Linked DNA regions of Homo sapiens: all the other regions are linked to region 1. The links are contacts of gene promoters, found by promoter capture Hi-C in blood cells and fetal thymus (Javierre and others, 2016). All regions are on one chromosome and are shown on one strand. Each heading gives the region's core, a stretch centred on a gene start or on the middle of the fragment in contact. The rest is flanking DNA. Distances are from core to core; before and after follow the strand shown.

Region 1 (4,124 bases), core at 499-2,998:
AGGGAGGCGGAGGCAGGCGGATTATTTGAGGTCAGGAGTTTGAGACCAGCTTGGCCAACATGGTGAAACCCCATCTCTACTAAAAATACAGAAATTAGCCGGGTATGGTGGCGTGCACCTGTAATTCCAGCTACTTGGGAGGCTGAGGCAGGAGAATTGCTTGAACCTAGGAGGCGGAGGTTGCCGTAAGCCGAGATTGCGCCACTGCACTCCAGCCTGGGCGAGAGTGAGGCTCCATCTCAAAAAAAAAAAAAAACCTGCAAAGAAACCCTTTGTACCAATAAATACTAAATTGCAAACAAGACCTAAGGCCATGCAAGGCAAGGGTAAAGTCACGCCTTAGAATTCATAAAATCTAGTGAAACATATCTGTTTTTTGGTGGGGATGGAATCACGTGGCAGGTAACAGACTCCCTTCACTTAAACATTCCTTCCTACCCCTTTCAAATTTTAGACACAACTTCACACTCTCAGCCAACTGCCAACTACAGAATCCCTCAACCACCTGTGCCTTCTAAGCCCCGCTTCTACGTGTCCTGCCCTGTCAGCCTTCCATGCCTTGATTGATCTTTTCCCTGCAATTCCTGTCTCGCTGAAATGAATAAAACCAAACTGCCATCGAACCTCCTGGGGACCACTTACTCGAGGCTACATGCGGTTGTTTCCCTTGGTCACGTTCTCTCATATTCGGCGTAGAACATAGTTCAAGTTATTTTGCAGAGTTTTGCTCTTTCCGTTATCAAACTGCAAGCCATGACTGGGTGTTTCTCATTCAGGAAACATTTCTCATTCATTTTTTTCAAACTCCTATTCTGAGAAGCAAAACTCTTTAATTTTTAAGAGGACTCAGTTTAGTTTGTTGCTGTTGTTTTTGTTTTGTTTTGTTTGAGACAGGGTCTCGCTCAGTCGCCCAGGCTGGAGTGCAGTGGCGCGATCTCGGCTCACTGCAGTCCCAATCTCCTCCCTCAAGCGATCCTCCCACCTCAGCCCCCCAGTAGCTGGGATTACAGGTGGGCGGCACCACGCCCGGCTCATTTTTTAAAAATTTATTTTTAATAGAAACTAGGGTCTCGGTATGTTGCCTAGGCTGGTCTCGAATTTCTGGGCTGAAGCAATCCCCCCGCCTCAACCTGCCAGGCGTGACCCACTGCGCCTGGCCTTCAATTTAGTTTTTCAGGAAAAAAGGGGGGACTGGGGACCCCGCAGCCCACCGCTCCTCCCACACGAACCACACACCCGAGGCAGGATTGCCTCCATGACCCTCCCGTGGTCTCCGCACAATCTGGGGAGACGCGGGACTACGGGCGCGGAGCTCCCCAGAGAGGGCTCCGGGGCCGGGGCCAGGGCCGGGGTCGCAGTCGCAGCGCAGAGACGGGACAGGACGCCTGGGGTCCCGGCTGCCGGCCCAACCCCACCCTGCGGCCGAAGGGACCGAGGGCCGAGCTACGCCAGGGGGACTCCGCTCTGCAGACCCGAAGTCGCTGCAGGAAGGCCTGGGTCCTGCTAGAGCCGGTTCGAGCCGGTTCCTCCCGGCCCCTCCCCCGTCTCGGGACCCCCGGCCCCGCACACTCACCATTTCCCGGCTTCCAGGTGTCCTGGCCTCCTCTCCACGGATCCCTCTAACAGTCCAGTCACAGTGCGGGCGATGGAGCGACAGAAGCTATGGCGGAGGCACCTGGTCCCTCTCGGGGCCGGAAAACCGAGATCCCGACCTCCCTTTGGTGCAAGACGCCTGGGAGTCAGGAAAGCGGGAATGCGGCCTCCCCTTCCCCGGATGGACAGTTGGCAGGACCCCGCCCCAGCGCCCCTGATTGGATGAGGCTCCAGTCCCCGTCCCATCGGTCCTGAGTGACAGCGGAAGCCCTGGGTAACAAGGCCCGGCAGAACCGAAATGACCTGTTCCAACCACAGATTATCTAAGCGAGCTCCCTCCCTGCGTCTTGCTCTTTGGGTATTTGCATTTCAGCCAAATTTGCTCCGAATTGCTAGAGGGGGTACCGTTGTCTTCCTCACTCAATGGGCTGTCCCTGCTCCTTTGTCTTGCACAGGAAATTCCAGACTCAGAGTCCAGTGGAGGTGAAGGAAATTAAAATATTTTACGCCAAAATATATTTATTTGACAGATTTTGAAATGGCTGTGGCTCGGCCGCAAAAAAAAGTGGACTGGCAAAGCTGTCTTTGGAGGGGGGGAATTTGCATCTGCAGAGAATCTCCATTGATGAAACCATGCCCTCTCCCCCTTTATTTCTTTCCCTTTATCCAAGCTAGAAGAGATTGTGACCTGAACACAGGCAGGGTGCGGTGGTTCACGCCTGTAATCCTAGCACTTTGGGAGGCCAAGACTGGAGGATCCCTTAAAGTAAAGAGTTAAAGACCAACTTGGTCAACACAAGAATACCCCTGTTTTGTTGTTTTTTTTTTTTAATTTTTATTTATTAAACTTTAAGTTCTAGGGTACATGCGCACAATGTGCAGGTTTGTTACATATGTATACATGCGCCATGTTGGTGTGCTGTACCCATTAACTCGTCATTTACATTAGGTATATCTCCTAATGTTATCCCTCCCACATCCCCCCACCCTAGACCCCTGTTTTTATTATTTAAAAATCTTTACGGCCGGGAGCGGTGGCTCACGCCTATAATCCCAGCACTTTGGGAGGCCGACGCGGGCGGATCACGAGGTCAGGAAATCAAGACCATCCTGGCTAACACGGAGAAGCCCCGTCTCTACTAAAAATACAAAAAATTAGTCGGGTGCGGTGGCGGGCGCCTATAGTCCCAGCTACTCGGGAGGCTGAGGCAGGAGAATGGCGTGAACCCGGGAGGCGGAGCTTGCAGTGAGCCGAGATTGCGCCACTGCACTCCAGCCTGGGCGACAGGGCTAGACTGTCTCAAAAAAAAAAAAGAAAGAAAAAGAAAAAGAAAATCTGTGAAGGTCAGAATTAGAGCAAGACCCATTTGGGATGCCTCCTGGAGAAAGGGTTTATGAATTTTTATTTATTATTTTATTTTATTGTATTTATTATCATTTTTTTTGAGACGGAGTCTCGCTCTGTCGTCCGGGCTGGAGTGCAGTGGCGCAATCTCGGCTCACTGCAAGCTCCGCCTCCCGCCCGGGTTCATGCCATTCTCCTGCCTCAACCTCCCAAGTAGCTGGGACTACAGGCGCCTGCCACCACGCCCGGCTAATTTTTTGTATTTTTAGTAGAGACGGGGTTTCACCGTGTTAGCCAGGATTGTCTCGATCTCCTGACCTCGTGATCCGTCCGCCTCGGCTTCCCAAAGTGCTGGGATTACAGGCGTGAGCCACCGCGCCCTGCGGGTTTATGAATTTAACAGTAAATTTAGCTTAAACTGACTCAAGTCGAGAGCTTCCTGTTGGTGAAAATGAAGGTCTTAAAGGAGAGAATAATTTCTAAACTGAGGAGGGGACAGAAGGGCATTTCAAACTCCCAGATAAATCCTTAATTTTCTCTGCCTCATCATCTGGGACTGACCCGCCCTGGGGGGCTCCATTTCAGCAGTCACAGTTTGGCTTCCAAGCTTGGAAATATCATTTACCTTCTGACAGAGGGTTTTCCTTGTGAACTGTGCATGAAGCAGGCTGCTTATCTGAACTACTTCAAATGTTTGCTTTACTTTTCTTTTGATTCCTTTATAAAATATTGCTGCCGGCTGGGCGCGGTGGCTCACGCCTGTAATCCCAGCACTTTGGGAGGCCGAGGCGGGCGGATCACGAAGTCAGGAGTTCGAGACCAGCCTGACCAACATGGTGAAACCCCGTCTCTACTAAAAATACAAAAATTAGCCGGGCGTGGTGGCACACGCCTGTAATCCCAGCTACTCAGGAGGCCGAGGCAGGAGAATCGCTTGAACCCGGGAGATGGAGGTTGCAGTGAACTGAGATTGTGCCACTGAACTCCAGCTGGGCGACAGAGCGAGACTCCGTTTCAAAAAAAAAAAAACATATATATATATATATATATATATATATATATATATATATACACACACACACTTATATATGTGTTTGTATATATACACATATATGTGTATATATACAAACACATATATAAGTATATATATACACATATATGTATATATATGTGTATATATATAGCT
Region 2 (4,124 bases), core at 911-3,410, 450 kb before region 1:
GCAAAAACAAAAACAAAAACAAAACCAAGCTGTCTCAGCCGGGTGTGGTGGCTCACAGCTATAATCCCAGCACTTTGGGAGGCTGAGGTGGGCAGATCACCCGGGGTCGGGAATTCGAGACCAGCCTGACCAATGTGGAGAAACCTCATCTCTACTAAAAATACAAAATTAGCCGGGTGCGGTGGTGCATGCCTGTAATCCCAGCTACTTGGGAGGCTGAGGCAGGAGAATCGCTTGAACCCGGGAGGCAGAGGTTGCGGTGAGCCGAGATCGCACCATTGCACTCCAGCCTGGGCAACAAGAGCGAAACTCTGTCTTAAAAAAAAAAAAAAAGCTGTCTCCCCACCTAGACAACCACTGGACTGACAGAATCATCTGATGTAGCAATGTTATAACTGTGGAGGCTATTGAAGCTTTGCAACTTCCATAAAAAGGATTAGACAGTAAACTATGGCTAATTGTGGTCATTTTATCACTTAGCACAATACAAGCTATCATCCCCACCCTTACCCCTGTTGCAGGCAGCTGCACATGGAGTGTTTTCCTCTAATTTGGCCTCGGGATCTCTCTCAGAAGCGTGGCTATAAACTTTAGTGCTGGCCAGGCGGGGTAGCTCATGCCTGTAATCCCAGCACTTTGGGAGGCCGAGGCGGGCGGATCACAAGGTCAGGAGATCAAGACCATCCTGGCTAACCTGGTGAAACCCAGTCTCTACTAAAAAAAATACAAAAAATTAGCCAGGCATGGTGGCGGGCGCCTGTAGTCCCAGCTACTCAGGAAGCTGAGGCAGGAGAATGGCGTGAACCCGGGAGGCAGAGCTTGCAGTGAGCCGAGATTGCACCACTGCACACCAGCCTGGGCCACTGAGTGAGACTCTGTCTCAAAAAAAGCAAAAACAAAAACAAACAAAAAGAACTTTAGTGCTGCATTGACGGGGCTCCAGGACACTTGGTTGTGGATATTTACAGTGTGACTTTCATGGGGTCTAATATTTAAGTGTTAACCCATAACCAAATGTCCTTCACAGGAAACTTGATTATACTGGCAGATGCCCTTATGGTTCTACCTCTGCCAAGTTAATCTCTACCAAGATAGCCAGATACCCACTCTCTACAGAGCCCTGACCTGGTAATAAGCTAGACATAGGTGTGGCAGTCAGGTGAGACGTGTGAGACAGCATCAGGCAGGCCAATATATGCACTGTGGGAGTTTCAGAAGGAGAAGAGACAGAGAAAGGTCAGGGGAGACTATTTGGAGAAATAATAGCTGCAAATATTCCAAATTAGATAAAAGCCATGAATGAATGCTGTCATCCAAGAAGCTCAATGAACTCCAGGTAGGATGAATGCAAAGAGAAGGACATGAAGACATATTATACTCAAATTGTCAAAGCCAAACATAAAGGGAGAACCTTGAAGGCAGCAAGAAAGAAGTGAATCATCACATATAAATGATCTTTCATAAGATCATCAGCAGATTTCTCATCAGAAGCGCTGAAGGCCAGAGGTAGTGGGCTGATGTATTCAAGGTACTTAAAAAAAAATGGCCACGGTGGCACATCCCTGCAGTCCCAGCTATTCCGGAGTCTGAAGTGGGAGGATCAGTTAAGGCCCAAGAGTTCAAGGCCAGCCTAGGTAACATGGCAAGACTCCATCTCAGAAACAAAGACAGCCAAGAATCCAATATCTGGCAACATTGTCTTTCAAAAGTGAGGAGGAAATTAAGGCATGCTCACATGAACAAAAACTGAGGTAGTTTTGTTCTTTTTGTTTTTGCCATTAGATGTACCCTGTGAGAAACGCAAAAGCCTTCTACAGGTTGAAATAGAACACTGGACAATATCTGGAAGGCGTAAGCCCAAATAAAGATCTCAGTAGAAACAAATGCATGGACAATTATAAATGCTAATATTATTGTACAATAATTGTGAACTCCAGTTTTTGTCTTTACATAATTGAAGATACAAATCCATTAAAAATTATTAGTCTAAAAGCTAGCATTTTAGACTTGGCTTTTGAACTCTATATTTTGTTTTTTTACACAGTTTAAGAGACTAATAAAAAAGAAACTAGGTTGGGCGTGGTGGCTCACGCCTGCAATCCCAACACTTTGGGAGGCTGAGGCAGGCAGATCACGAGGTCAAGAGATTGAGTCCATCCTTACCAACATGGAGAAATCCCATCTCTACTAAAAAAAGAAATACAAAAATTAGTTGGGCGTGGTGGCGCACGCCTGTAATCTCAGTTACTTGGGAGGCTGAGGCAGTAGAATCACTTGAACCCAGGAGGCGGAGGTTGCAGTGAGCCGAGATTGCACCACTGCACTGCAGCCTGGAGACAGAGAGAGACTCCGTCTCAAAAAAAAAAAAAAAGAAAGAAAGAAACGAATGCACCGAAAATATGTTTGCGTTTTTGAATACATAAAGTATAAAGATGTAAATTTATGACACCAAACTGAAAGGGGTGTGAACAGGCATGCCATGGAGCATTGTATTTGCATGCTATTTATGTTAAATTGGCATAAATTTAGAATGTTATGGCCTTAGGATGGTAAACGCAATCCCCATGGTAATTAACAGAGCAGTAGTGTATACACAAAAGGAAACAATAAAGAAATTTAAATGTTTCACTACAAAAAGCAATTAAAAGCAAAATAATGCAGAAATGCATGAAATGAGAAGAAAAAAGCTACAAGGCATATTGAAAACAAATAGGAAAATGACAAAACCAAGTCCTTTCTTATCAGGAATTACTTTATCTATTTATTCATTTTGAGACACAGTGTTGCTCTGTCGTCCAGGCTGGAGTGCAGTGGTACGATCTCGGCTCACTGCAACCTCTGCCTCCTAGGTTCAAGTGATTCTCATACCTCCAAAGTAGCTGGGATTACAGGCATGCAATTCTCCTGCCTCAGCCTCCCAAGTAGCTGGGATTACAGGCATGCGTCACCACACCCGGCTAATTTATTTCTATTTTTAGTAGAGACAGGGTTTCACTGTGTTGGCCAGGCTGGTCTGGAACTCCTGGCCTCAAGGGATCTGCTCACTTCGGCTTCCCCAAGTGCTGGGATTACAGGCGTGAGCCGCAGCGCCTGGCAATGTGAGTTAATTTTAGTGTATAATGTGAGAAAGGTTCTCAGTTCATCTTTCTGCAGGTCAATATCCCATTTTCCCAGCACATTGTTGAAAACCCATTCCCTATGAAAGCATCTTGGCCCATTTGTTGAAAATCAATGAGCCATAAACAAAGAGTGTCTTAGTCCATTTGTGCTGCTATCGTGGAATACCACAGACTGGGTAATTTATAAAGAATAGAAATTGACTTTCTCACAGTTCAGAAGGCTTAGAAATCCAAGAAGACACTGGCATCTGGCTTCAGCATTGCTGCATTCTCACAGGGTGGAAGACAGGAGGGCAAGAGAGGGCAAATTGCATTCATCAAACCCTGTATAATGCCATTAATCTATTCACGAGGGCAGAGTCCTCATGATCTAATCACCAAAAGGCCCCTCCTCCCAATAGTGTTGCAGTGGGAATTAAGTTCTGACTTATAAATTTTAGAGAGTACACAAATATTTAAACCATAGCTAAGGGACTCTCAATTCTGCCCTGCTGGTCTATATAGCTGACAATTTGCCAGTAAGTCTGGTTACTTTACTACCCACCCTGATGCTGAAGCATCCCATTCCGTCCCACATGATAGTCATGCAGGCATAGAAATGGTTCTAAAGCCGCAAGAGCATCCCTTAGACAACCTAGATGTACTTCTATTTTAGGATACATCCTGTAAAAGAAATTTTCTGAAGAACATAATAATGGGTCATGCCATGGTTGCTCCACATGAAACGCTCGGGGCACTGTCTTCACTCACTGTAAAATCAGCCCAAGGACTGAACTCATAGCTCTTAGGAAAGCTTGCACATTGGCAAACAAGAAAACTGACACAGAGAGTAAGCTTCCACACCCACAATCTCAGCTACTCAGGAGGCTGAGGCAAGGGGATTCTTGAGGCCAGGAGTTTGAGGCCAGTTTGAACCACACAGCCAGATTCCACCTCAAAAAGAAAAAAGAAAAAGAAAACGGCTACAATTTACACGGATACCAGATACGCTTTGGGAGTCTTTCA
Region 3 (4,124 bases), core at 870-3,369, 390 kb after region 1:
CCCCTAGGACATCTCCCAGCCCCACCCTGGCTCACTGAGTGCTCAGTGACCAACCTCCCTGAAGACAGTGAATTGTGCCCTGCTCACTCTGCCCCAAGCGCATTTTAACTTTCAGGTTCTCGCACCATTTCAATGGGGCAGGTTTTCCTTCTCCTTTGAGATAGTTTTCCTCCCTTCACTAGACTAAAAACAATCCAGAGGTCAGGAATCATTTGTGTCTTTTCCTCTCAGTAACAGCCTAAGATTGGGTAACCATCAATGTGTCCCTAAGGAACGGAAACTGGGGTTGAGGAAGAAAAGCTGAGCGTCCCAAAGGGTAAACTTTTCAGAGGAAGGGGATACCGGGAGACTCCTCCCACCTCAGGGCATACAGCTGCTCCCGTGAGAGGCCCCACCCCTACACCTTAAGCTGTCCTCTGGGAGGAGTGACCCAGGGGTTGATAATCACTAGATCCTCCAAGAGAAGTGGCAGCTGTGGGTATCCTGGGTCAGGCCCAGGCAGTTCTGAAAATCAGGACCAGGAAAAGATAGAGGGCCACATCACCTTGTAAAGTTTCCAAAGGGGAAACTCCACCCAAAGACATTCTGATTAGGCGTCGGGGCTTAGGAAAGATAAAAGGAGGGGAAGCACAAAAATTTTTTTACCACGGCCGGGCGCGGTGGCTCACGCCTGTAATCCCAGCACTTTGGGAGGCCGAGGCAGGCGGATCACCTGAGGTCGGGAGTTCGAGACCAGCCTGGCCAACATGGAGAAACCCTGTCTCTACTAAAAATACAAAATTAGCCGGGCATGGTGGCGCATGCCTGTAATCCCAGTTACACGGGAGGCTGAGGCAGGAGAATCGCTTGAACCCAGGAGGTGGAGGTTGCAGTGAGCTGAGATCGCGCCATTGCACTCCAGCCTGGGCAATAAGAGCGAAACTCTGTCTCAAAAAAAAAAAAAAATTTTACCGTAGAGTGTCAGGTTCTTATTCTCCGTTTCCCTCTCAGGTTACAAGTACACAAACAAGAGGCCGGGCGCGGTGGCTCACGTCTGTAATACCAGCATTTTGGGAGGCGGAGGTGAGCGGATCACCTGAGGTCTGGAGTTTGAGACCAACCTGGCCAACATGGAGAAACCCAGTTTCTACCAAAAATACAAAAAGTAGCCGGTCGTGGCGGCGCATGCCTGTAATCCCAGTTACTCAGGAGGCTGAGGCAGGAGAATTGCTTGAACCCGGAAGGCGAAGGTTGCAGTGAGCTGAGATCTTCCCACTGCACTCCAGCCTGGGCGACAGAGCGAAACTCTGTCTGAAAAGAAAAAAAAAACAACAAACAGAAAACAAATCCTTTCAAAAGAGTATGGTGAAAGAAACTATAAACAACTAAAATACTGTGTCTTAAATGTCAAACAAAAAACAGCTGATAATGTTGATTTGGCGAGGGGAGGTCACCTTTGGGAATGCGGGGAAGGAACCGGAAATTTAGGCATTTATTTCCAGCCCCAGAAAAAGCTAGGCTAAAAAAAACGGGAGTCGTAGGTTTGAGATTCTTTTTCCAGTACGTTTGGAAGACTCGGAGGAAGACCAGTCCCCCGGAAAAAAAGACGATGTACTGGGAAGGCCACAGCCCACAGCTCTTCCCATGCACGAACCGCACACCCGAGACGGGATTCCGCCTTATGACCCTCCCGTGTCCCAGTACAAACAATCTGGAGAGAGGCGGGGCTGCGGGCGCGGAGCTGCCCAGACAGGGCTCCGAGGCCGAGGCCGCAGTCGCCGCGCAGGGACGGGACAGGACGCCTGGGGTACTGGCTACGGCCCAACCCACCCTGCGGCCGAGGGGACAGAGGGCCGAGCTGCGCCAGGGAACTCGGGTCCCAGACCCTGGAGTCGCTGCAGGGAGGCCAGGGTGCTTCCACAGCCGGTTCCGGCCGGTTCCCACAAGCCCCTCCCCCAGTCTCCAGGCGCCCGGCCCCGCACACGCACCATTTCCTGGCTTCCAGGGTGTCCCGGGGTCCTGCCTACGGCTCTCTCCGGCCTGTGCAGGTCCCAGCGCGCCAGACGCTGCGGTGGAGCCACCGGGGCCACTGGAGAAGCGGAGACCGGAACCCAAACGCAGCGGACACGAAACAGGAAGACCCCGCGGAGTTGTTGAACATTGCCCCTGTCCCCCTTGCAGAGTTCCTGATTGGATGGTTTGCAGGTTCCCGCCCCAGTGCCCCTGATTGGGTGATGATTCAAGTCCTGCCCCCTTGGTACTGAGTGACAGGAGAAGCAATGCGGTATGTGGCTGAGTAAAGACAGATTGACAGGGTCTTGGCCACTGCCCTTCGCGGGCCGGGCTTCCTCCTTCTGTAACCTTCTGTGCCGGGGAGGATATTTGCATTTAAGCAGAAAGTGTTTCAGGCTCTGCAGAGGTGACACTGGCGTGTTTCTGCACTCAGGGTGCCCTTCCTGCCTTTTCCTCCCGGACACAGAGTCACAAGTGTGCACAGGGAATGACAGACTCGGCGTCCAGTGGAGCCATCCCCTGGCCTCGGAGTAGGAGGCGCGCCCAGGCCAGGCCAGACCACAGTGTAACAGGAGGGAGGAGGGCTTGCTTCTTTCAGGCAAGAAAATTAAAACGGACAAAGAAATAAAAGTATTAAATGTATAGGAAAAACTGGAGTTTTTATGACAGCGATCATCTATAAAGAAACCAAGAGAAGTAAGCAAACATTTGAACTAGCTCAGACAAGCAGCCTGCTTCACCCGCAGTTCACAAGGAAAACCCACAATCATAACGTTAAAAATATTCCCAAGCGCCGGGCGCGGTGGCTCACGCCTGTAATCCCAGAACTTTGGAAGGCCAAGGTGAGAAAATTGCTTAAGGTCAGGAGTTCAAGACCAGCCTAACCAACATGGTGAAACCCCATCTCTACTAAAAATACAAAAATTAGCCAGGCGTGGTGGCAGGTGCCTGTAATCCCAGCAACTCGGGAAGCTGAGGTACGAGAATCGCTTGAACCTGGGAGGGGGAAGTTGCAGTGAGCCGAGATAGCGCCATTGCACTCCAGCCTGGGCGACAGAGCGAGACTAAAAAATGAAATATGAAATGAAATGAAATAATGAAATGAAGAAATGAAATATAAAATAAAATAATCCCAAGCTTGGGACCCAGACTCTAACTGCTGAAATGGAACCCCAGTGTGGATCAGAACCTGGTGATGAGACAGGGACACTTAAGAATTCAACTTTGGGAGCTCAAGGTGCCCTCCAGTCCTCTCCTCACAGTGTGGAAACACTCTTTCCTTCAAAACCTTCATTTGTACCAGCAGGAAACTCTCACCCGGAGTCAATGTAAAGTCGTGACCTAAATAAATTGTCATGTTCCCAAACCTTTTCTCCAGGGGACAATGCAAACAAGTTTTTCACTGAGTCTGACCCTCACAGATTTTCTTCATGTATACAAATTACAGCCTGACTCAGCGACCCCATGAATGCTAAAACCAAAACACTGTCCAGGAAATGGCCCCAGGCGCCAAAGGTACAACCTCAGAAAAGACAGAACCCTCCACCCCCAACCCAACCACATCTGCACATGGGTCTCCTGCTTTTCACAGCTCTGCAGCTTCTCAGAATCCACATTCCTGGCCAGGCGCGGTGGCTCACGCCAGCACTTTGAGAGGCCCAGGCGGGCGGATCACCTGAGGTCAGGAGTTCGAGACCAGCCTGGCCAAATGGTGAAACCTCGTCTATAGTAAAAATACAAAAATTAGCCGGGCGTGGTGGCGCGTGCCTGTAATCCCAGCCACTCGGGAGGCTGAGGCAGGAGAACCGCTTGAACCCGGGAGGCAGAGGTTGCAGTAAGCCCAGACTGCGCCACTGCACTCCAGCCTGGGTGCCAAAACAGTGAGACTCTGCCTCAAAAAAATAATAAAAGTAAAAAATAAAATTAAAATTAAAAAAAGAATCTGCACTCCTGAGCAGCTGGAGGCCACCTGCAAGGGCGGGCAGGCTGCCCAAGAAGCACCCTTTCCCTCTCTTTGCAGGCTCCAGACTGGTCTCAGGCTCTCCTGCCCACTGCAGTTTATTCACTTGCTTCTCACCAACACTGATCCACTTAGGTAAGAAAAAAGACCTTCAATCCCCTTTGCTGTTTGT
Region 4 (4,124 bases), core at 1,198-3,697, 380 kb before region 1:
TACAGGTGCCCGCCACCACACCTGACTAATTTTTGTATTCTTAGTAGAGACGGGGTTTCGACATGTTGACCAGGCTGGTCTCAAACTCCAGACCTCAGGTGATCCACCTGCCTCAGCCTCCCAAAGTGCTGGGATTACAAACGTGAGCCACCACGCTCAGCCTGAATGCCCTAATTTCTGAGGGAAATTGTTCTCTCCTTTTTTATTCCCAGGACTTAGATGTTCTACCATATGTCTTAATCATAATTTGTTGTCCCAGTTGTTTGAAGGTTTTTTATGTATTTTGCAACAATTTGAAGCAGTTCCTGCCAAGCTTGACCTAATTAGGCTCCATCATTGATTAAATAAAAAAGAGAACTTTCTTTCAGACCTTTGGATAGTCCACAGATGGATTGAAAAATACAAAGGTGCAATAACTTACAAATAAGATCTGATCTGCTCTCTCTAGGGATCCACATTGGAAATTTGGTCTGCTGTTTTCAAGACTGGTGCTGATGTGAGGAGGGATTGGGACAAGGACAAATAAAAACTCCACAAAACTTTCCTACTATTTGTCACCTTCCTTATTCTATTTGTTTATCTCTGTGTTAATAGTACAGGGTACTGAATATAATATATTCACCATACTTTATCTGTTTTTGGAAAGCTGTTGCTTTCTTGGTTAGAAGGATTTTAGCATTTTTAGATGTTTGTGACTTCTATTAGATTTGGTCATGTAATTTTTAATGATGACAAAAAGGTCTGTTTAGGGATTTAGGGAAATATTATAGATATTCATGAGAGATGACATTGAGTTTTTTTCTAAGAACATATGCAATCTTGGCCCTTCTTTTCTTCTTTGACATTACTTAATAAAGTTTAATTTTTCCATTGGGATGGTAAAATATCCTTATTAGTCTTTTGTCATACTTAACTACATATGTTCTACAGTAAACCAGTTGCTAGCTTCCAAATGTTCTCTCTTAGTGTAGTCACATAGCACAGGCTAAATCCCCCAAGGCACAAGGGTCACTCATTACAGACACAGTGACCAGAGTGTTTTTTCCCTTTTTTTTTTTTTGAGGCGGAGTTTCTCTCTTGTTGCCCAGGCTGGAGTGCAATGGCGCAATCTCGGCTCACCGCAACCTTCGCCTCCCGGGTTCAAGCAATTCTCCTGCCGCAGCCTCCTGAGTAGCTGGGATTACAAGCATGAACCACCATACCGGGCTAATTTTTTGTATTTTTAGTAGAGACAGTGTTTCTCCCTGTTGGTCAGGCTGGTCTCGAACTCCTGACCTCAGGTGATCTGCCTGCCGCGGCCTTCCAAAGTGCTGGGATTACAGGTGTGTGCCACTGTGCCTGGCCTCAGAGTGTTTTTTTCATGGCTTAGTCTGTTTTTTGTTGCTTATAACAGAATACTTTAACCTGGGTAATTTATAAGAAATGATATTTATTTTTTACACTTCTGGAGGGTGGGAAGCCCAGCATCAAGGCTGGGCATCTGGTGAGAGCCTTCTTGCTGGTAACTCTCTTTTGCACAATAGGTAGTAGGACTTTGTCATGACAAGAACTGCAGACCCACTGTAGAAATAGAAATGAGGAGTGATTCAGGCAATAAGACTCACTTTCTTAACTTACCAACAAGAGGCGTGTTCCTATTCAACTGTTACTTTACAAAACATGTTCATTTCTAGGATCAGAATTGTGTGGGATAAAATGAGTGTAAAGAGAGAATAAGAGTGGGTTTACCATGTTCTTGAATAAATGCTTGGAAACCACAGCATCATGTGAAGGTTATGAAGTGAATTTACATTCCCAGTGCCTTCAGTTTTAATATTCCTCCTCTGCACATGTGAAATATTTCAGGACTCAGTGGCATTTGAGGATGTGGCTATAAACTTCACCTGTGAGGAGTGGGCTTTGCTGGGTCCATCACAGAAGAGTCTCTACAGAGATGTGATGCAGGAAACCATCAGAAACCTGGACTGTATAGGTAAGGATGTCATCATGTCTTCACTTAGTCAATTAGAGACATTTGTTTCTTGGTCATCAATGCTGTTCAATTATTTGAAATATGGAAGGGTATATAATTGGCCCTTGAACCAGCCACCCAAGCAGTCATACATCTTCTCCCGCACAACTTAACCACTAGTAGCCTACTGTTTACTGGCAGCATTACTGGTAACATAAACAGTTGATTAATACATGTATTATATGTCATATGTATTACATGCTATATATTCTCACAGGAAAGTAAGCTAGAAAAGGAAAATATTCATTAGGAAACCATAGGTAAGTGGAACATTATTTAGTATTCATAGAAAATACAACATTACAAAGTTTTCATTCTGATTGTCTTTACATTGAGTAGACTGAATAAGAGGAGGGGTTGGTCTTGCTGTCTCAAGAGTAGCAGAGACTGAAGAAATTCATATGTAAGTAGACCTGTGCAGTTCAAACCTGTGTTGAAGACTCAGCTGTAGTTTGGTGTGTGAATCATGCATGATTGTAGTGTACATAAAATCTTACAGTCTTTCTATAATTTTATAATAATTTATAGTCATTTTTCTGGTTCTAACTTTTAGGAATGATATGGCAAAATCATGATATAGAAGAAGATCAGTACAAAGATCTCAGAAGAAATCTAAGGTAATTTGCACTCACAAGAGAAAGCTGTGTCCTTGAAGTGATTCATAGTATGCCAGAAATTTTATTTTATTTTGTTTGTTTTAGAGACAGTGTCTCACTTTGTTGCTCAGGCTGGAGTACAGTGGTATGATCATAGCTCGCTGTAGCCTCGGACTCCTGTGCTCAATGGTCCTCCCATTTCAACCTCCTGAGTAGCTAGGGTTACAGGCATGCACCACCACATGTGGCTACATATTTAGTTTTTGTAGAGATAGAGTCTTGCTGTGTTTGACCAGACTCATCTCCAGCTCCTGTCCTTAAGCGTTCCTCCTGCCTTGGCCTCTCAAAAGGCAGGTATTGCAGGCATGAGCCACTGTGACCAGCCCAAAATTTTAAAAAGAAGCAAGGAAAATTAACAAGCCCACCTTAAATTTATTTATTCTTAGAAAATTTTCTTCAAAAACATATACTTAAATGTGACATGGCTATGGCTATTCAGTGCCTGCAAAATAGTTCCCTTGGAAACAGTATTAAGAATTCCCATATGAATGTCACTATCTTCAAAACAGCTGGGGTTGAGTTACCTTGTACATCATTCTGTCCATTCATGTTCAAAGAGGGCATGAGACCTACACTTTGCATGATAATGTTAGAAATGTAAATCCAGGCCAGGTGCGATAGCTCACACCTGTAATCCCAACTATTTGGGAAGCTGAGGCAGGAAGACTGCTTGAGCCCAGGTGTTCAATCAGCCTGGGCAACGTGGCAAGACGCCCTTTCTACAAAAAATACAAAAATTAGCTAGGCATGGTGGCCTGTGCTTGTGGTTTCAGTTACTTGGGAGGCTGAGACAGGAAGGTTGCTTGAGCCCAGGAGGTCAAAGCCGCAGTAAGCCCTGTTCACATTACTATACTCCAGCCTGGGCAACAGAGCAAAACCCAGTTTCAAAAAAAAAAAAAAAAAAAGAAAAAGAAAAAGAAAGGCTGGGTATGGTGGCTCACCCTTGTAATCCCAGCACTACAAGAGGTCAAGGTGGGCAGATTGCTTGAGCTCAGGAGTTCAAGACTAGCCTGGGCAACATGGTGAAACCTCGTCTCTATAAAAAATACAAAAATCTAATCTCAGCATTTTGGGAGGCTGAGGTGGGCAGATCACGAGGTCAGGAGATCGAGACCATCCTGGCTAACATGGTGAAACCCCGTCTCTACTAAAAATACAAAAAATTAGCCAGGTGTGGTGGCAGGCGCCTGTGGTCCCAGCTACTTGGGAGGCTGAGGCAGGAGAATGGTGTGAACCCGGGGGAGGTAGAGCTTGCAGTGAGCCGAGATTGCGCCACTGCACTCCAGCCTGGGCAACAGAGCGAGACTCCGTCTCAAAAAAAAAAAAAAATCAGCCATGTGTGGTGGCTTATGCCTGTAGACCCAGCTATTTGAGAGGCTGGGGTGGGAGGATGGTTTGAGTCCGGGAGGTGGAGGTTGCAGTGAGCTGAGATCACACCACTACACTCCAGCCTGGGC
Region 5 (4,124 bases), core at 762-3,261, 370 kb after region 1:
TGAAAACCTGAGTAGTTTCCAGAGTTTACCTATTGTGAATGATGCTATGTACACAGGTGTACAAAACCTATTTGAGACTTTGCTTTCAATCTTTTTTGTTTTGTTTTGTTTTTTGAGACGGAGTCTTGCTCTCTCACCCAGGCTGGAGTGCAGTGGCGCGACCTCAGCTCACTGCAAGCTCTGCCTCCCGGGTTCATGCCATTCTCCTGCCTCAGCCTCCCGAGCAGTTGGGACTACAGGCGCCTGCCACCACGCCCGGCTAATTTTTTTTTAGTAGAGACGGGGTTTCATCATGTTAGCCAGGATGGTCTCAATCTCCTGACCTTGTGATCCGCCTGCTTCGGCCTCCCAAAGTGCTGGGATTACAAGCGTGATCCACCACGCCCGGCCCTGCTTTCAATCTTTTTATTTTCCCAGAAATGGAAATGCTGATCATATGTTATTTCTATATTTTAATCTGGGGATCTGCCATACTGTTTTCAGCAGGCTTATACCACTGTACATTCCCAGTGATAGTGCACAATGTTCTCCAACATTCCACATCCTTGACAGTATTTCTTGTTTTCCATCTTTGATACTACTAATCCTAATGAGATGCTATGTATGTCTTGAGTTTGATTTGTATTTCCCTAATGACTAAAGATGTCGAGCATTGTTACGTGCTTATTGGCCATCTGGGTATCTTCTTTGGAGAAATGTCTATTCAAGTCCTTTCCTCCATTTTAAAATTGGATTGTGTCTTAGCTTGGGTTGCTAAAACAAAATACCATAAATTGGAAAGCTTAATTAATCAACAAACATTTATTTCTCATGGTTTGGGAGGCTGGGAAGTCCAATATCAAGGCACTGGCATAGTCCATGTCTGGTAAGGGCCTGCTTCCCGGTTCAAAGATAGCTATCTTCTCACTGCACCCTCTCATGGTGAAGGGCAAAGCTAGCTCTCTAGGGATTCCTATCAGGAAACTAATCCCAATTACAAGGCCTCCATCTTCATGATGTCCTCCAATCCTAAAAACCACCAGAGACAGGGCCTCCAAATACCATCACATTGTGGGGGAGAGGGGGGGCACGGGGGTAAGGTTTCAACATATGAATCTGAGGTGGCATACACTCAGCCAAAACATTACACCTCTGGCCCCCAAAATCCATGTCATCACATGTAAAATATATTCATCTCATCCCAAAGGCCTCAAAAGTCTCAGTTAATTCCAGCATGAAGCCTAATGTTTAAACTCAAACTCCAAAGTGTCATCTCAATATCACATCACTCAGATATGGATGAGACTCAATTCATGCTGAGGCAAAATTCTTCTTCAGCTCCGAACCGGTGAAAACCAAACTAGTCATGTATTTCCAAAATATGAGACAGGCACAGGATAGAGATTCCTATTCCAAAAGTGAGAAACAGGAGAAAGGGGTGAGCTCCCAAACAAGTCTGAAACCCAGAAAGCAAACTGAAGACTTTCCATATTCTTTAGATATGTAGATACTTGTAGACCTGTCCTCCACTATTCATTTTCACAGGTATTCGAAGGTTGTGTGATAAATGAAAGCTTTCCCACATTCTTTACGTAAGGTTTATCTCCATTATGAGCTCTTTCATGTCTTTGAAAGGAACTGGAATAACTGAACGTTTTTCCACATTGCTTACATTCATAGGGTTTTTCTCCGGTATGAGTTCTTTCATGTATTCTAATGGAACTGGCATAATTGAATGCTTTCCCACATTCTTTACATTCATAGGGTTTTTCTCCAGTATGAGTTCTTTCATGTGTTCGGACAGAACTAGGACAGTCAAAGGCTTTACCACATACCTGACATTTATAAGGTCCATCTCCAGTGTGCAGTATCATATGTTTTCTAATCCTTTTAAGAGAAATGAAGGCTTTCCCACATACCTGACATTCATAGGGTTTCTCTCCAGTGTGAGTTCTTTCGTGTATTTGAAATGAACTGGGACAGTCAAAGGCTCTACCACATACCTGACATTTATAAGGTCCATCTCCAGTGTGCTTTATCATGTGTCTTCGGACACTTGGGAGAGAAATGAAGGCTTTCCCGCATTCCTTACATTCATAGGGCTTCTCTCCAGTGTGAGTCCTTTCATGTGTTCGAACATTACTGGAAGAACTGAAGGTTTTACCACATTTATTACATTCATAGGGTTTCTCCCCAGTATGAGTTCTTTCATGCTTTCGAACATAACTGGGAAAAATAAAGGCTCTCCCACATACTTTACATTTATAAGGTCCATCCCCAGTGTGCCTAATCATATGACTTTGAAAATTTGTGAAAGAAATGAAGGCCTTCCCACACTGTTTACATTCATGGGGTTTCTCTCCAGTATGAGTTCTTTCATGTATTCGAAATAAACTGGGGCGGTCAAAGGCTTTTCCACATTCCTGACATTTATAAGGTCCATCTCCAGTGTGCCTAATCATGTGTCTTTGAAAACTTGGAAGAGAAATGAAAGCTTTTGCACATTCCTGACATTCATAGGGTTTCTCTCCAGTGTGAGTTCTTTCATGTATCTGAAATAAACTTGGGCGATCAAAGGCTTTCCCACATTCCTGACATTTATATGGTCCATCTCCAGTGTGCTTAATCATGTGTCTTCGAACACTTGGGAGAGAAATGAAGGCTTTCCCACATTCCGGACATGCATAGGGTTTCTCACCAGTGTGAGTTCTTTCATGTCTTCGAAAGGATTGACAAGAACTGAAGGCTTTCCCACACTGCTTACATTTATATGGTTTCTCTCCATATTCCTGATAGTCATATGGTTTGTGTCCAAGGTGAGATCTGATGTGCCTACTAAGGGATGAATGATGCATGAAGACTTTCCCACACAAACTACATTCACATGGTCTTACTATAGTAGGAATTTTCTTGTTCAGATTAAGATTGAGAATCTGACTGAAGGCTTCTCCACATTGATCATATTCTTTACTTTCACTGAGTCCCTCTTCCATATGATTTCTGGAAAAAATAGAAAGCAAGATTTAGTGGTTTGTGACTTTATATTTATTAATAGGTATTCGACTTACATTTTTACCATAATCGCGGAAAGGGTAAGTTTTCAGGCCTGTATGAATTGTTTGAAAGTGAATGGATGGAATGCTCTGCAAGAGAGCTTGACAGTAGCTATCACCAAAAAAGTGATATCCATATATACAGTTTCTTAATACTATTTCCAAGTGAATGATTTTGCAACACTGAACATCTATGCCACTTTTTCTTTTTCTGGTGAAAAAGTTGTAGGAATAAATAAATCTGAAGCTGGGCTTACTGGTTTGTTTACTTATTTTTAAAATTTCATGACATACTAAGAAGGAGACATTGCTTTATCTTGTCAGTGCAAATTACCTTAAAATTCTCCCCTGATTTTTGTACCAATCTTCAATGCTCTGGTCTTCCCATTTTTTTCCTAAAATATAGTCAGAAAAAATCCTTATGAACTGATAGACATTACAGAAAAATGACTAGATTCTAAGTTCATGATAAGGTGCAAACAACCCTGATTTATTCACCCAAGTATTCCCTTTTCCACATTAGACATCATGAAAAAGCATTAAAAAGCAAGAAATACTTCTTCTCTAACTGACTAAAAGAAGGAATGATGTCATCCTTACCTACACAGGCCAGGTTTCTAAAGGTTTCCCGCATCACATCTCTGTAGAGTTTCTTCTGGGAAGGATCCAGCAAAGCCCACTCCTCAAGTGTGAAGTTCACAGCCACATCCTCAGAGGCCACTGAGTCCTAAAACATCCCAAATATGCAATGCAGGAGGAAGAATGAGATGACAGTACAGGGATGTAAACCCAATTCATAAAAGTTCACAAATGGCTAGGTGTGGTGGCTCATGCCTGTAATCCCAGCACTTTGGGAGGCCAAGGCATACAGATCACCTGAGGTCAGGAACTTGAGGCCAGCCCGGTCAACATGGTGAAACCCCATCTCTACTACAGATATATGAATTAGCTGGGCGTGGTGGCGTATGCCTGTTAATCCCGGCTACTCAGGAGGCTGAGGCAGGGGAATCGCTTAAACAAGGGAGGCAGAGGTTACGGTGAACCAAGATCACGCCACTGCACTTCAGCCTGGCTGACAGAGAGAGACCCCAT
Region 6 (4,124 bases), core at 928-3,427, 360 kb before region 1:
GTGCAGTGGCATGATCTCAGCTCACTGCAACCTCTACCTCCCAGGTTCAAGTGATTCTCCTGCCTCAGCCTCTTGAGTAGCTGGGATTACAGGCACCTGCCACCACACCCGGCTGATTTTTGTATTTTAGGTAGAGATGGGGTTTCACCATGTTGGCCAGACTGGTCTCAAACTCCTGACCTCAGGTGATCCGCCTACCTCGGCGTCTCAAAGTGCTGGGATTACAGATGTGAGCCACCATGTCCAGCCTTTACCACTTCTTAATGGGGTTGTTTTTGTTGTTGTTGAGTTGTTTGAGTTCCTTGTATATTCTGGATATTAGTGTTTTGTTAATATATAGTTTGCAATTAATTTCTCCCATTCTTCGGGTTATTTGTTCACTTTATTGATTATTTATTTTGCTGTGCAGAAGCTTTTCCATTTACTTAAGTCACATTTGTCTATTTTGTTATTGTTGCCTGTGCTTTTGAGGTCTTAATCCGGCATTTTTTGCCTAGACCAATGTCCAGAAGAGAATTCCTTAGATTTCCTTCTAGTATTTTTATAGTTTTGGGATTTACATTTAAGTACATTTTGAATTGATTTTTGTATATGGAGAGAGATCAGGGTCCAGCTTCATTCTTCTCCGTATGGCAATCCAGTGTTCCCAGCACTGTTTATTGAAAAGGGTGTCCTTACCCCAATGTATGTTCTTGTTGACTTTGTAAAAAACCAGTTGGATGTAAATATGTGGATTTTGTTCTAGGTTCTCTATTCTGTTTCATTTATTTCTGTGTATATTTTTATACCAGTAACATGCTGATTTGATTGCAATAGCCTTGTAGTATAACTTGAAGTTAGGTAATGTGTTGCTGTCAGAGGCATTCGAACCAGAGCGACTCCATTCTGAGGGCTAGGAAAGTGAGGCTGGGAATTGCTGGGCTTCATTCCCAGAAAGTTAGGCATACCTCGCTTCTAGGTGTTTACAGTTAAAGGAACAAATTAATAATGTTTACCAAGACCCAGACTTGGTAGTGTCCAGATATCCCAATATCTGGAGAACAAAGGCATTTCTAATTTTGCTTTAAAGATAATAATATCAATTCTTGCAAAATATAGTAATTAAGAAAATTAATCCTTTATCATGGACCCTTATAGCAGAGCACATCTGCCCATATATACAAGCATCATTGTACCTAGGGTGGATGCGTTCCTCCTCTTACTTACAGAAACATCCAACTCTTTCTGGGGAGTAGCTGTTCTTTCACCACTTTACTTTCTTAATAAACTTGCTTTTACTTTGCACTGCAGACTTGCCTTGAACTCTTTCTTGCAGGAAATTCGAAAACCCTCTCTTGGGGTCTGGATTGGGACCCCTGTCCTGTAACATTGCCTCCAACTTTGTTCTTTTTGTTTAGGATTGCTTTGGTTATTCGGGCACTTTTTTGGTTCTATATGAATTTTAGGATTGTTTTTCCTAATTATGTGAAAACTAACATTGGTATTTTGATAAGAATTGCATTGACTCTGTAGATTGCTTTGGGAAGTATAGTCATTTTAATGATATTAATTCTTTCTGAATAATTAATGAAATTAATTCTTCTGATATTAGTTCTTTCCATAAGCATGAAATGTTTTTTCCATTTGTTTGTGTCATCTGTAATTCTTTAATCAGTGTTTTATAGATTTTTTCTTTTTGTAGAGGCCTTTCACCTCCTTGGTGCAATATATTCCCATGTGGGGTGGGGTGTTATTTGGTAGCTCTCGTAAGTGGTATTGCTTTCTCGATTTGGTTCTCAGCTAGATTGTTGTTGCTGTATAGAAACACTGCTGACTTTTGTACACTGACTTTGTATCCTGAAACTCCTGAATTAATTTAACTAATCTAAGAGATTTTTGGTGGAGTCTTAAGCGTTTCTAGATGTAAGATTATATATCACTGAACAGGAATAATTTGACTTCCTCTTTTCCAATTTGCATGTCTTTTATTTCTTTCTCTTGCCTGATTGCTCTGGCCAAGACTTCCTATACTAGGGTTGAATAAGAGTGGTGAAAGTAGGCATCCTTAATCTTGTTCTAGTTTTTATCATTCAACTATTTCCCCATTCAGTATGATGTTGGCTGTGTGTTTATCATGTGTGGCTTTTATTATTTTGAGATATGTTCATTCTGTACCTAGTTTTTTGAGCTTTTATCATGAAGGATGCTGAATTTTATCAAGTGTGTTTTCTAAATCTATTGAGATGATCATATGGTTTTTATTCTTCATTCTGTTTTTGTGATGTGTTACATATATTAACTTGTGTGTGTTGGACCATTTTTGCATTCCTGGTATAAAACCTACTTTATCATGCTGTATTATCTTTTTAATGTGCGGTTGGATTCAGTTTGCTAGTGTTTTGTTGGGGATTTTCACATCCGTGTTCATCGGGGATATTGGTCTGTAGTTTTGTTGTTGTGTCCTTGTCTGTTTTTGGTATTAGGATGTTACTGGCCTCATAGAATGAGTTAGGGAGATTTCCCTTGTCTGTGATTTTTAGGGACAGTTTCAGGATTATTAGTATAGTTCTTTTTGTATGTTTGGTATAATTTTTTTAATGTTGATTTTTAAATTTTTATTTTTTTACTTAGAGATGGGATCTTGTTATGTTGGCCAGGGTGGTCTCAAACTCCTGGCCTCAAGCAATCCTCCTGTCTCAGGCTCCACAGTGCTATGATTACAGGCATGAGCCACCACATCTGGCCTATTTGGTACAATTTTGGTATAAATCTGTCTGGCCCAGAGCTTTCATTTTTGGGAATTTTTTTATTGCTGATTCAATATTGCTACTTATTATTGGTCTATTCAGGATATCTGTTTCTTCTTGGTTCAATCCTGGGAGGTTATACGTTTCAAAAAAACCTATAGGTTTTCTAGGTTGTGAGCATATAGTTGTTCATAGTAGTCTCTGATGGTATTTCTGTGGTATTGGTGTAATGTCTTCTTTTTCAATTCTGGTTTTGTTCATTTGAATCTTCTTTTTTTTCTTGGTTAGTCTAGCCAGCAGTTTATTACTTTTGTTGATATTTTCAAAGAACCAACTTTTTGTTTCGTTTATCATTTGTGTTGTTTTTTAGTCTTGATTTTGTTTAATTCTGCTCTGATCTTTGTTATTTCTTTTCTGCCAACTTTGGATTTGTTTTGTTCTTGTTTTCCTAGTTCCATGGGGTACCATGTTAGGTTGTTAATTTGTTACTTTTTTGACAGAGGCATATAATTCTATAAACTTCCCTCTTAGCATGACTTTTCCTATATCCCAGAGGTTTTGATATGTTGTGTTGCCATTTTTGTTCATTTCAAACAAAATTTTTATTTTCTGTTTTTATTTCTTCTTTGACTCAGAGATCATTCAGGAGCACATTGTTTAATTTCCATGTATTTATACAGTTTTCAAAGTTCCTCTTGGTATTGATTTTTAGTTTTATTCAGCAGTCTGAGAAGATGCTTGAAATGATTTTGACTTTAAAATTTGTCGAGACTAGTTTTGTGGCCTAACATATGGTCTACCTTGGAGAATGTTTCACGTACTGATGAGAAGAATGTATATTCTGCAGTTGTTGGGTTCTGTAAACGTCTGTTAGCTCCATTTGGTCCAAAGTCCAACTTAAGTCCAATTTTTTTGTTGATTGTCTGTCTTGATGATATATCTACTACTGTGTGTGAGGTGCTGAAGTCCCATACTATTATTGTATTGCTATCTATATCTTTCTTTAGGTCTAGAAATATTTGCTTTATTAATTTGGCCTCTCCAATGTTGGATGCATATATATTTAGTATTACTATATTATCTTGCTGAATTGATTCTGTTATCAGTATCTCATGATCTTCTTTGTCTTTTTGTACTGTTTTTTATTTAAAGTCTATTTTATCTGATACAACTATCACAACTCTTGCTGAAGCACAGTGGCGAGATCATAGGTCACTGAAGCTTCAAACTCCTGGGCTCAAGATCTTCCCACCTCAGCCTCCCGAGTAGCTGGGACTACAGGTTCAGGACACCACGCACTGCTAATTTTTAAATTTTTAGTACAGACGAGGTGTGGCTCCGTTTTCCAGGATGATGAACTCCTGGGTTCAAGCAGTCCTCCCGCTTCAGCCTCCAAAA
Region 7 (4,124 bases), core at 989-3,488, 340 kb after region 1:
CTACTATTCCCAGGGCAAATGGATTCCTGTTTTAATTGATACGAGGAAAACTACTCCTCAAAGCTTGTGTAATCTTTGAAAAATTCTACTACATTTAATGGTTATATCCAAACCCTAATGTATTATAATATGCTACTCTTTTTTTGAGACTGAGTCTTGCTCTGTTGCCCAGGCTGGAGTGCAGTGGCGCCATCTCGGCTCACTGCAAGCTCCACCTCCCGGGTTCACGCCATTCTCCTGCCTCAGCCTCCCGAGTAGCTGGGACTACAGGTGCCCATCACCACGCCTGGCTAATTTTTTTGTATTTTTAGTAGAGCTGGGGTTTCACCATGTTAGCCAGGATGGTCTCGATCTCCTGACCTCGCGATCCGCCCGCCTCGGCCTCCCAAAGTGCTGGGATTACAGGCGTGAGCCACCGCGCCCAATCTATAATATGCTACTCTTTCCTGAAAATACCCCTCAGTGTGAGATACAGTGGACAGACATGCTATGATGCAGATTCTCTTAAGATTTGAAATTTTACATTTCGTATAGTTTACACTTTTAAAAGTGTATAAAGGATTAAATCTTAATGAAGACAACTTAAAATTTAAAAAAAACTACATTATTTAAAGACTTTAATAGTAAAATATAGTGCAGATAAATATCTTCGTTCATTTTATTTTTTTATTTTTTATTTTTTTTGAGACGGAGTTTTACTCTTGTTGCCCAGGCTGGAGTGCAATGGCACAATCTTGGCTCACAGCAACCTCCACCTCCCAGGTTCAAGTGATTCTCCTGCCTCAGCCTCCCGAGTAGCTGGGATTACAGGCATGTGCCACCATGCCCAGCTAATCTTTTTGTATTTTTAGTAGAGATGGGGTTTCTCCATGTTGGTCAGGCTGGTCTCGAACTCCTGACCTCAGGTGATCTGCCTGCCTCGGCCTCCCAAAGTGCTGGGATTACAGGCGTGAGCCACCGTGCCCGGCCTTTTTAATGTATATTTTTAGACAGGGTCTTGCTCTGTCACCCAGGATGGAGTACAGTGGCACGATCGATCATAGCTCACTGCAGCCTCAGCCTCCCCTGCTCAAGTGATCCTCCCAACTCAGCCTCCTGAGTAGCTGGAACTACAGGCACATACCACCATGCCTGGCTAATTTTTGTATTTTTTGTAGAGGCAGGGTTTCACCAACCGGCAGGGTTGCCCGGGCTGGTCTTGAACTCTTGAGTTCAAGTGATCCTCCTAGCTCGGCCTCCCAAAGTGCTGGGATTACAAGTGTGAGCCACTGCACCAGGCCTCCATTCATTTTAGAGAGATAATACATGTGAAGGTTAAAAAAAAAAATCTATGAGACAGGAAAATCTAACATAAGACTCACTGTCAAGCATATCCTGGTTCATTCCAGGATTCTTGCTCCAGCCACCCCGCCCTTCGTAAAAACTTTTGGTAATTCCTTGTGCATCCTATTAGTGTTTCTTTATTAAAACAAGCAATTGCAGGCCAGGCGCGGTGGCTCACACCTGTATTCCCAGCACTTTGGGAGGCCGAGGCAGGCGGATTACCTGAGGTCTGGAGTTCGAGACCAGCCTGACCAACATGGAGAACCCTTGTCTCTACTAAAAATACAAAATTAGCTGAGCGTGGTGGCGGGTGCCTGTAGTCCCAGCTACTCAGGAGGCGGGCGCCTGTAGTCCCAGCTACTCGGGAGGCTGAGGCAGGAGAATCACTAGAACCCAGGAGACTGAGGTTGTGGTAAGCTGAGATTACGCTATTGCACTCCAGCCTGGGCAACAAGAGTGAAACTCCGTCTCACACAACAACAACAACAAAAACAAGCAATTGCAAATGCATGTTTTTCTTATCCATGTTTGCTCTTGTAATGAGTAGTTGGACTCCACCCTTTCTGGTATTTGACTGTTGGCAGATTCAGTGTCAACCCCCCTCTTCTTTCTAACAGCTGCCCACTGTCAATGGAATCACCAAACTCTCAAATATTTTAAGGCTTTATTCTGAGTCAGTATGAGTGACCACGGCCCAGAAAACGCAGTCTCAAGAAGTCCTGAGAAAGTGCACCAGTGGCAGCCAGGTTACAGTTATTTGGTATTTTTGAGACAGGGTCTCACTCTGTCGCCCAGGCTGGAGTGCAGTGGCACAATCTCAGCTCACTGCAACCTCAGCCTCCCAGGTTCAAGCAATTGTTGTGCCTCAGCCTCCTAAGTAGCTGGGATTACAGGCCTGCGTCACCATGCCTGGCTAAATTTTTTGTATTTTTAGTAGAGATGGGGTTTTGCCCTGTTGGCCAGGCTGGTCTTGAACTCCTGGCCTCAAGTGATCTGCTGGCCTCAGCCTTCCAAAGTGCTGGGATTACAGGCACGAGCCACAGCACCCAGCTACAGTTTGGTTTTATGCATTTTAGAAAGACAGGAGTTGCAGGCAGACATAAATCAGTACATGGAAGGTAGGCATTGATTTGGCCTGAAAAGGTAGAATATCTTGAAGCGGGGGCTTACAGGTTATAGGTAGACTCAGAGGTTCTTTGATTTACAGTTGGCTAAAGGAGTAAACATTTGGAGTCATTAGATAAGAATGAATGTTTGGGCCGGGCGCGGTGGCTTATGCCTGTAATCGCAGCACTATGGGAGGCCGAGGCGGGTGGATCACCTGAGGTCAGGAGTTCGAGACCAGCCTGGCCAACATGGAGAAACCCTGTCTCTACTAAAAATATAAAATTAGCCAAGCGTGGTGGTGGCGCCTGTAATCCCAGCTACTCGGGAAGCTGAGGCAGGAGAATCACTTGAACCTGGGAGGCGGAGGTTGTGGTGAGATCATGCCATCGCACTCCAGCCTGGGCAATAAGAGCGAAACTTTGTCTCAAAAAAAAAAAAGGAATGTTTAAGGAAGACAGCTGGGCTCAGGAGCCTATAATCCCAGCACTTTGGGAGGCTGTGGCACACAGATTGCATTAGGCTGGGGACAGTGGCTTATGCCTGTAATCCCAACACTCTGGGAGCCCAAGGCAGGTGGATTACTTGAGGCCAGGAGTTCAAGACCATCCTGGCCAACATGGTGAAACCCTGTCTCTACTAAAAATACAAAAATTAGCTAGGTGTGGTGTGTGTGCCTGTGGTCCCAACTATTTGGGAGGCTGAGGCAGAAGAATCCCTTGAGCCCGGGAGGTGGAGGTTGCAGTAAGCTGAGATTGCGCCACTGCACTCCAGCCTGGGTGACAGAACGAGACTCCATCTAAAAAAAAAAGTAAAAATGAGGTCGGGCGCAGCAGCTCACGCCTGTAATCCCAGCACGTTGGGAGGCCGAGGAGGGCGGATCATGAGGTCAGGAGATCGAGACCATCCTGGCTAACACGGTGAAACCCCGTCTCTACTAAAAATACAAAAAATTAGCTGGACGTGGTGGCGGGCGCCTGTAGTCCCAGCTACGCAGGAGGCTGAGGCAGGAGAATGGCGTAAACCTGGGAGGTGGAGCTTGCAGTGAGCCAAGACTGCACCACTGCACTCTAGCCTGGGCGACAGAGTGAGACTCCATCTCAAAAAAAAAAAAAAAAAAAAAAAGTAAAAACGATTAGCTGGGTGTGGCAGCATATGCCTATATTCCCCACTACATGGATCACTTGAGCCTGGGAGGTCCAAGCTGTGGTGAGCAGTGATTATGTCACTGTACTCCAGCCTGGGTGACAAAGCAAGAGACCCTGTCTCAAAAAAAAAAAAAAAAAGATAAGAAAATCTGTTAACCAATACACTGGGTCGGAATGACCTAGAGTTTGTGACTTAACCCTTGGAGAGCATGGCCTTAGGTCTTATTTATAATTTGGTATCTTATTGTCATAAAGAGTTTTGTTAGTTTTATGGTCTCTATTTTAACATTAATGCTGGTCAGTTGTGCCTAAACTCCAAAAGGGAGGGGTTATAACAGGGTGTGTCCGACCTCCCTTCCCATGGCTGGGAATTCAGTTTTTATTGTTTTTGTTCTTTCAAGACAGGGTCTCACTCTGTTAACCAGGCTGGAGTGCAGTGGCACAGTCATATTATAGCTTATTGCAGCCTTGAACTCCTGGGCTCAAGCTATCCTCCTACCTCAGCCTCCTGAGTAGCTGGGACTACAGGTGCATGCCACCATGCCCAGT

The links. The method cuts DNA at HindIII sites, captures the fragments that hold promoters and counts their contacts. A CHiCAGO score of 5 or more calls a contact.
Region 2: a fragment that was not itself captured here is called in contact with the fragment with the promoter of ZNF625-ZNF20 in region 1 in 1 of 17 cell types (monocytes); the score reaches 5.1 in monocytes.
Region 3: the fragment with the promoter of ZNF564 here is called in contact with the fragment with the promoter of ZNF625-ZNF20 in region 1 in 3 of 17 cell types (monocytes, neutrophils and erythroblasts); the score reaches 7.0 in monocytes.
Region 4: a contact is called between a fragment that was not itself captured here and the fragment with the promoter of ZNF625-ZNF20 in region 1, in 4 of 17 cell types (fetal thymus, total B cells, total CD8 T cells and 1 more). The highest score is 6.7, in fetal thymus.
Region 5: a contact is called between a fragment that was not itself captured here and the fragment with the promoter of ZNF625-ZNF20 in region 1, in 5 of 17 cell types (erythroblasts, M0 macrophages, total CD4 T cells and 2 more). The highest score is 10.7, in erythroblasts.
Region 6: a contact is called between a fragment that was not itself captured here and the fragment with the promoter of ZNF625-ZNF20 in region 1, in 10 of 17 cell types (monocytes, non-activated CD4 T cells, erythroblasts and 7 more). The highest score is 11.8, in monocytes.
Region 7: a contact is called between a fragment that was not itself captured here and the fragment with the promoter of ZNF625-ZNF20 in region 1, in 1 of 17 cell types (erythroblasts). The highest score is 5.8, in erythroblasts.

Annotation. Positions count from the first base shown.
Region 1 is chr19:12,154,983-12,159,106 of GRCh38, forward strand. ZNF625-ZNF20 (ZNF625-ZNF20 readthrough (NMD candidate)) reads right to left here and starts at 1,749. Exons shown (of 8, transcript NR_037802.1): 1 at 1,574-1,749. It overlaps ZNF625 (zinc finger protein 625), which reads right to left and starts at 1,752. Exons shown (of 4, transcript NM_145233.4): 1 at 1,574-1,752. The coding sequence starts at 1,576. RefSeq lists a silencer at 1,269-1,438 and enhancers at 1,415-2,106, 1,669-1,778. The HindIII fragment of the contact is 6,672 bases long and covers 1-3,543 here.
Region 2 is chr19:11,701,498-11,705,621 of GRCh38, forward strand. No RefSeq gene overlaps it. Among named protein-coding and RNA genes, the nearest start is that of ZNF823, 35 kb to the right of the region's middle. The HindIII fragment of the contact is 3,499 bases long and covers 412-3,910 here.
Region 3 is chr19:12,549,363-12,553,486 of GRCh38, forward strand. ZNF564 (zinc finger protein 564) reads right to left here and starts at 2,120. Exons shown (of 4, transcript NM_144976.4): 1 at 1,968-2,120. The coding sequence starts at 1,970. LINC02926 (long intergenic non-protein coding RNA 2926) reads left to right here and starts at 2,364. Exons shown (of 2, transcript NR_187485.1): 1 at 2,364-3,507; 2 at 4,013-4,124. RefSeq lists enhancers at 757-1,259, 1,918-2,027, 2,093-2,387, 3,171-3,672, 3,673-4,124 and a silencer at 1,608-1,687. The HindIII fragment of the contact is 25,081 bases long and covers 1-3,127 here.
Region 4 is chr19:11,775,766-11,779,889 of GRCh38, forward strand. It overlaps ZNF441 (zinc finger protein 441), which reads left to right. Exons shown (of 4, transcript NM_152355.3): 2 at 1,846-1,972; 3 at 2,565-2,628. It overlaps LOC124904639 (a long non-coding RNA gene), which reads right to left and starts at 1,872. Exons shown (of 2, transcript XR_007067141.1): 1 at 1,729-1,872; 2 at 1,410-1,560. The HindIII fragment of the contact is 4,273 bases long and covers 312-4,124 here.
Region 5 is chr19:12,524,938-12,529,061 of GRCh38, forward strand. It overlaps ZNF564 (zinc finger protein 564), which reads right to left. Exons shown (of 4, transcript NM_144976.4): 2 at 3,633-3,759; 3 at 3,367-3,427; 4 at 436-2,979. The coding sequence ends at 1,509. Among named protein-coding and RNA genes, the nearest start is that of ZNF564, 24 kb to the right of the region's middle. The HindIII fragment of the contact is 920 bases long and covers 1,552-2,471 here.
Region 6 is chr19:11,793,316-11,797,439 of GRCh38, forward strand. No RefSeq gene overlaps it. Among named protein-coding and RNA genes, the nearest start is that of ZNF491, 3.1 kb to the right of the region's middle. The HindIII fragment of the contact is 3,535 bases long and covers 411-3,945 here.
Region 7 is chr19:12,497,687-12,501,810 of GRCh38, forward strand. No RefSeq gene overlaps it. Among named protein-coding and RNA genes, the nearest start is that of ZNF709, 15 kb to the left of the region's middle. The HindIII fragment of the contact is 4,354 bases long and covers 62-4,124 here.